Regions from separate parts of the Homo sapiens genome. Here region 2 is linked to region 1. Evidence: promoter capture Hi-C in 16 types of primary human blood cells and fetal thymus (Javierre and others, 2016). All regions are on one chromosome and are shown on one strand. The core of a region is centred on a gene start or on the middle of the fragment in contact, and the rest is flanking DNA. Distances in the headings are between cores, read along the strand shown.

Region 1 (3,364 bases), core at 614-3,113:
TCAATCAAGTGAACATACTGGAGAAATAAAACTTGTCAATTAAGTGACTGTGATTTGCATCTAAGTTATGGAAAGGCTGCTTGTGATTCAAGTTACAAGGCATTATCCTTGGAATGTAACCGCCATAGCCAACTACATTTCTGTAGCAAATATTTTTGTTATACTTATTCGAAATACAAATGCCCATTATTAAAACAATATTCTGACCTTGTTAGAGCAAAGATTTTTAAAGAGAGGGCAGGATCCATCCAAACACATGCTCCTCCTCCCGGGGTAGAAGGATGTGAAATGTCAGGATTATTTGAGGGCTTTTTTATATCACTGGAGATATGAACCACAATTCGGGAATCATCATATTTGTAAGCCATTATTAGCAACAACGTTAGATTTTATGTCTACGTTTTTTAAGGGAATCATAAAGGTTGATCCCTGCTTTGCAGTTCAAAACACTTATACAACATGATCTCCGTTCATCTAATCCTGGCAGTCACTTTTTGAGGAGGTCTACAGAAAAGATTACATTTGAGCAGTAGGAAGGCTAGGTGACTCTCCTAAATTAAGGCAGCTAGTTCTTGGTAGAACTAGGCATCTACATTCTTTTTTTTTCTTTTTAAACATCAGTCTTTCCCCCGGGTCTGGATGGATCCATCTGTGATAGATCACGGCATTACTGGCCTTGTCAAATCTTACCCCGGTATTAACCATGTTTTTCATTTGGACATCACCAGGCTCTTAAAATGTTGTTCCTCCTCCTCCTTAGTAAGCAATGGAAAATCAATATATATCCAGCTACCTCCCCACACACACACAAATATAACATCTAGGAGAGTAAATATTTTTTGTGTTTACGATTATACTCTCAGTGCAAAGAACAGTGCCTTTTTCAATAAACGTTTGATGAAGGAAATAAGATAACTCACTCAATGCCTGGCAAGAATTGGATATCATTCCTCTTGTGCAAGGATCTGTGTGGTACTATCAGATAGTAATTTCTCCTCACAGTCTTCTAAAGCAACTTGATCATCTACCTGTTTCTCTTTTGCCCATTTCCTGTATATTTGGAATTTCTCTGTTTACAATCATGTCACCTGCACTCCAGAAGAAGCTCTACACTACATTCCAAAAAGCAATCAGACCCAAGACAAGTGCTACATATAATCTATACTGCTTCCAAAAATGTCCTGGCTGTCATACATCAAAGAAAGAATCAAATGAAGATATCCACATATGGGCTCATTTAGAGTTTCTGTTACTTTAATAATATAAAATCAAGTCCAAATTCCTGATTGTAAAGTGAAATAACAAGAATGGGGTTTGTGAGCTGATGGGCCAGCACAATGGGCTCAAAGATAAACCAAGCAAATAAGATCTATTCTTCTGGCCAGTAGATCCATGCTCTCTGTTCATTCTGAATTCTGAGAATACTTTGTAAACTGAGGACTCCAAATTTTCCTCTCCATTGGATACACAAAGCATAAAAGAGGAGTGAAAAAAGAGGTGAGGGCCCCTATAATTTCAGCTACTCTGGAGACTAAGGCAGGAGAATTGCTTGAACCCGGGAGGTGGAGGTTGCAGTGAGCTGAGATCGTGCCACTGCACTTCAGCCTGGCCAACAGAGTGAGACTCAGGGAGGGAGGGAGGGAGGGAAGGAGGGAAGGAGGGAAGGAGGCAGGGAGGGAGGGAGGGAAGGAAGGAAGGGGAAAGAAAGAAAAAAAAAGAAAGAGAAAAAAAGAGAAAGAAAGAGAAAGAGAGAGAAAGAGAGAGAGAAAGAGAGAGAGAAAGAAAGAGAGAGAAAGAGGCAAAGATGGCACTTATGTAACTTACAAAGAGAAAGTATGATCATTTAATCATCTGTTTGTATAGGATTTTTAGTCCAAATTTTCCTTTGGCATATTAGAGGTTAGGGATCTCCACCCATGATCTGGAATGCTTTCTTCTTAGCCAAATAAACTCTGACTAAATGACATGCAGCAGCGTGCGTCTCTGTCTTCTGCACAGACATCTTCCAAGACACTGATATCTACATTGCTTTCTCCTACGTGGAAATTTAAATATCTTTGGAGCCTTTGGGACCCCATTCCTGAATGAGTCCTATTCAAGGAGGTTGTTGAGCAAAGGGAGTAATTAGAAGTGAGTAAACTGTCTAGTTGAAATAGAATATGGTGATGTTTCCCACTGTGACAGTGCTGGATAGGAACAAGGGGGAGCCAAATCTCTATTTTCTACCTCTAAGATTGACCCTGGGAAAGGAGAAAAAAGGTGAATGGTATAGCCCAATCCTAGGACATATGTAGAAACCAGTTACCCAGTTTCAGGATACATTATCGGAATGAGAAATAACCTAACAACCATATATCTCAGACTTTTAAAAATATCCAATTTTAAATATTTTAATCTCAGTTTCTTCATAGTTCTTGCCATGAACTGAATTGTGTTCCTTCAAAAATTCGTGTTGAAACTCTTAACACACCCAATCCACGTAACTGTATTGGAAGTAGGGTCTTTAAGAAGGTGAATAAAGTTAAATGAGACCATAAGGATGAAGCCCTGATGCAATAGAACTGGTATCTTTGTAAAAGGAGAGACATCAGATCTCTCTCTCTGTCTCTTTCTCTCTCTCTCTCTGCCTGTCTTTTTCTCTCCCTTTATCTCTCCATGTGAGAACACAGCAAGAAGACAGCCCCATCTCTAAGCCCCAGAAACCAAACCCTGCTGCAAAACCTGTGCAACCTTGATCTTGAATTTTACAATCTGCAGAACTGCGAGAAAAAAAATTCCTGTTGTTTGTGTCACCTAGTATATTCTGTTTTGTTATGGCAGCCCTAGTGAACTAACATAGTTCTTCTACTTTTCAGACTATGGTTTCTAATATTTTGATATAGAAATAGAATTTCTTTTCCTAGACTCCAACAAACATTTGTCAATTGGCACAGCTGAATTTCCTGAACCAGAAATAGTTCTCCTGATGATATTCCCAGAATTATATCAAAGTATTATTCAACAAACATTAATTAATAACCTATACAACCAAGAATAAGACAAATTTCCTTAATCTTGACCTTCTCTTCTGTGAAAGGAGTCAAGAACCTTGCCCTTTGAGATTCCAGACATTTGTAATCTGGAAATTATTCCTCTTTCATGTAACGTAACAGTTACAGAGTTGTCAAAGAACTGAAAAATATGTAAAAACCTGAAATAATAAAGTAGAGAAAACAAAAGAAAAGAGGTCAGCAATGCTAAATTTGGCTCTTTGAAAAGACTAAGAAAATAGAAGTACTTCTTTAAAAATGATTCTTGAAAAAAGTGAGAAGGCACATATAAACATGAGGAATGAAAGGATGACAGAAGCACATGGATTAAGCAG
Region 2 (3,364 bases), core at 611-3,110, 110 kb after region 1:
AATAGGATGTTTTTACTTGCAACCAGGAATTAAAATGGAGGAGAAAGTAAGTTGTTTCTTACCTCTATCAGTTTCAAGTTTACTTAGCGTTTTTGATTTGGAGAAGAAAGGAAAAGATATACGTCAGAGATCTTTTAGGTAAAGCAAAATGAAACAAAAATATGTATGAGTTATGGGAAAATAGAAGAAAGAAAAAGGAGGCCGCAAGCAGTGGCTCACGCCTGTAATCCCAGCATTTTGGGAGGCCGAGGCGGGCAGATCATGAGGTCAGGAGATCAAGATCAGCCTGGCCAACACGGTGAAACCCTGTCCCTAGTAAAAATACAAAAAAATTTAGCCAAGCGTGGTGGCGCACGCCTGTGATCCTAGCTACTCGGGAGGCTGAGGTAGGAGAATTGCTTGAACCTGGGAGGTGGAGGTTGTAGTTAACAGAGATCGTTCCACTGCACTCTAGCCTGGGTGACAAGAGAGAGACTCCGTCTCAAAATAAATAAATAAATAAATAAATAAATAAATAAATAAATAAATAAAACAAGAAAGAAAGAAAAAGGAAAAGATGTGGAAAAGGTAGAAATAAGTCAGTGTATTCCTGCGGGACTACATAAGACAAAAGGACAAGCACTTCTCTCTTTCCTTCTCCATCACAAACAAACCTTTCCGTCAGATTTAGTGTAAGTTTTATCAAACTGTATGTCACAGAATAGTCAGAATATCCTGTAGCTGGGAAATTCCTTTTATTCTGTTTTCTTTTGTTGAAAGCAAAACTCGTATCACGTTATTAATGCACAATTTCCTGGGTTAAAATTAACTTTGGGGACTCCCTGCCAAAGGAATTCAAGCCCCGCTCTATGGAAGGAAAAAAAAAGAAGTCAAATTCCCTTCTCTGCTAGCTCAGAAGAGGAATGATGAAGGTACGTGCTGAAGCCGATCTGTCGGCCACGTGCTTTTAGCACCAAGTGGTTCTTGTGCAGTCTGTAAACACAGGCAGGGTCCTGTGACCTTTGCCAGCTGTATTTCCATCAAGACTTTCTCCATTCTTACCTGAAACACCTTGTGAACCCAATGGCTGTTTACACACAAAGAGTCGTGGGTCTACTGACACCAATTGGTAAAAATGGTAGCAATTGACTGGTTATTTAACTGGCTCTCTAGAAAGACTATAGCACATGGTGGTGCCATCAGAAATCATAAGCATCACAGACCTCTCTAACACAGTTCTAATAATAATTTCAACCATTCTTTATCCTATTGATTCAGCTCCAGGGTCTTTATTGCAAGCTACTTGTTAGTGAAGAGGAATCTGGTTGTCGGTGCCCCAATAGTGCCATCTGCCGGCCGATGTTAGGTATTTCACCTTAATTCGGAGTCCTGTTTCAAGAGCGGGATTTCAAAATCAAGAGTACTACTGGAAATGGAAATATCATTGCCCTACCAAAATCAGAAATTAGAAGACCTCTAGACACTTTTTTTCCCCAAAGTCATGAACATCTTCCTGTAAATGAAAATTCCTGTAATGGTACACAATTTGTAGATGTGAAAGAATCCTCTAAAATGATCTAGTTCAACCTCTTCATTTTACAAATATTAGAACTAAAGCCATAGAGACAAAATAATTTATTCAGGACCACACAGGCTATTATTAGTGGAACCACTGTTAGAACCCCGGTATTTTGCTGATTCACACATAAGTGCTTTTTAACATGCTATAAGCAGGAAAGATATTTATAGTCTTTCCCACTTCCTCATCTGAGGCCACTATGAAAGAACACTACTATTACTATTACTTTCCTACGCCTCCACCATGAGAACAGTCACACACACACACGCACACACACACACACACACACTCTCATAGTCACAAAAGGATATTCTACTTATAATCAGAAATCCTCTTGAAACAAGAATTAACATTCAAAATGTGAAAACCTACAAAAATAAAATTATTAAAAATAATTACAGCCTTTTTTTAAACTTTATTCTGACAAGAGCATTCTAAAACCTTCAGCAAATAGATATGTCAGCAAGTAAACAGTTTTAAAAATGGAACTAGGCCAGGTGTGGTGGCTCACACCTGTGATCCAAGCACGTTGGGAGGCCAAGGCAGGAGGATCACTCAAGCCCAGGAGTTTGAGACCAGCCTGGGCAACATGGTAAAACCTTGTCTCTACAGAAAATATAAAACTTAGCTGGGCATGGTGTCACATGCCTGTAGTTTCAGCTACTTGAAGGCTGAGGTGAGAGGATCGATTGAGCCCAGAAGGTTGAGGCTGCAGTGAACTAGGATTGTATCTCTGCATTCTAGCCCGAGAGACAGAGCAAGAACCTCAAAAAAGTAACTAAACTTTATTTTTGTATAATTAAACAAATTTGGTTAGGGCTCCATTTTATTCCATAACATGAAGTAGGGTGTGTGAATATGATAGCTGTGACACAAACTATGCTGGCGGTGTAAGATTTCTGCTCTACGGAAGGTAGCTAAATAGACATGAGGGACCAAGCAGAGTGGGTTCTCCACTGGGAGAAAATGTGAACTGGCTAACATGTAATGACCTTTTCACTATAATTTCATAATTCAATTTTTCTGCACAGTACTGATATGGGAGGGGGCAAGGAAGGGCTGGGAGGAGAACGGCGGGTCCCTGGGGAGGGCTCCACCCCTGGACCTGTGCCCATGGAACTAGGGGAGAACAGGCACTCCTGCTTTCAGGTCCAAATGTTGCATTTCCCAAGACCACCCTGGCCCACCATGTCCCCATCCTGTGCCTATAAAAACCCTGAGACCCTAGTGCGCACGGACACAGCAGCTGGACATCGTGAGAAACACATCAGCAGGAGAACACAGAAGCGGCTAGACATCAAGAGGAACACTTCGGTTGAAGAGCACACCGAACGGCACCAGCAGACGCCGGCAGGCCATTGACCAGTGGAATGAAGCGGAGTTTAGCTGGAGCTGTCAGAGGAGAGTCACGCCGCTGAGCTGACTCCATGGGAAAACCACCTTCCCGCTCCCCTTCTGGCTCCCCATCCGTCTGCTGAGAGCTATTTCCACCATTCAATAAAATTTGGCACTCATTCTCCAAGCCCATATGTGATCTGATTCTTCTAGTACACCAAGGCAAGAACCCCGGGATACAGAGAGTCCTCCACCCTTGCTATAAGGCAGAGGGTCTAATTAAGCTGATTAACACAAGCTGCCAACGGACGGCTAAACTGAAAGAGCGCACTGTAACACACGCCCACTGGAGCTTCAGCTGTAAACATCCACCCTTAGACGCTGCCATGAGGTCGGAGCCCCACAGCCTGCCGGTCTGCAAGCTCCCCCTAGAGGTTTGAGCAGCTGGGCACCGTAGAAGCGAGCCACACC

Evidence for each region. The method cuts DNA at HindIII sites, captures the fragments that hold promoters and counts their contacts. A CHiCAGO score of 5 or more calls a contact.
Region 2: a contact is called between a fragment that was not itself captured here and the fragment with the promoter of OR10D3 in region 1, in 2 of 17 cell types (erythroblasts and megakaryocytes). The highest score is 6.2, in erythroblasts.

The regions. Positions count from the first base shown.
Region 1 is chr11:124,181,844-124,185,207 of GRCh38, reverse strand. It overlaps OR10D3 (olfactory receptor family 10 subfamily D member 3), which reads right to left and starts at 1,863. Exons shown (of 2, transcript NM_001355213.3): 1 at 1,825-1,863. The HindIII fragment of the contact is 5,579 bases long and covers 1-3,364 here.
Region 2 is chr11:124,069,500-124,072,863 of GRCh38, reverse strand. No RefSeq gene overlaps it. Among named protein-coding and RNA genes, the nearest start is that of OR10G7, 30 kb to the right of the region's middle. The HindIII fragment of the contact is 5,328 bases long and covers 1-3,364 here.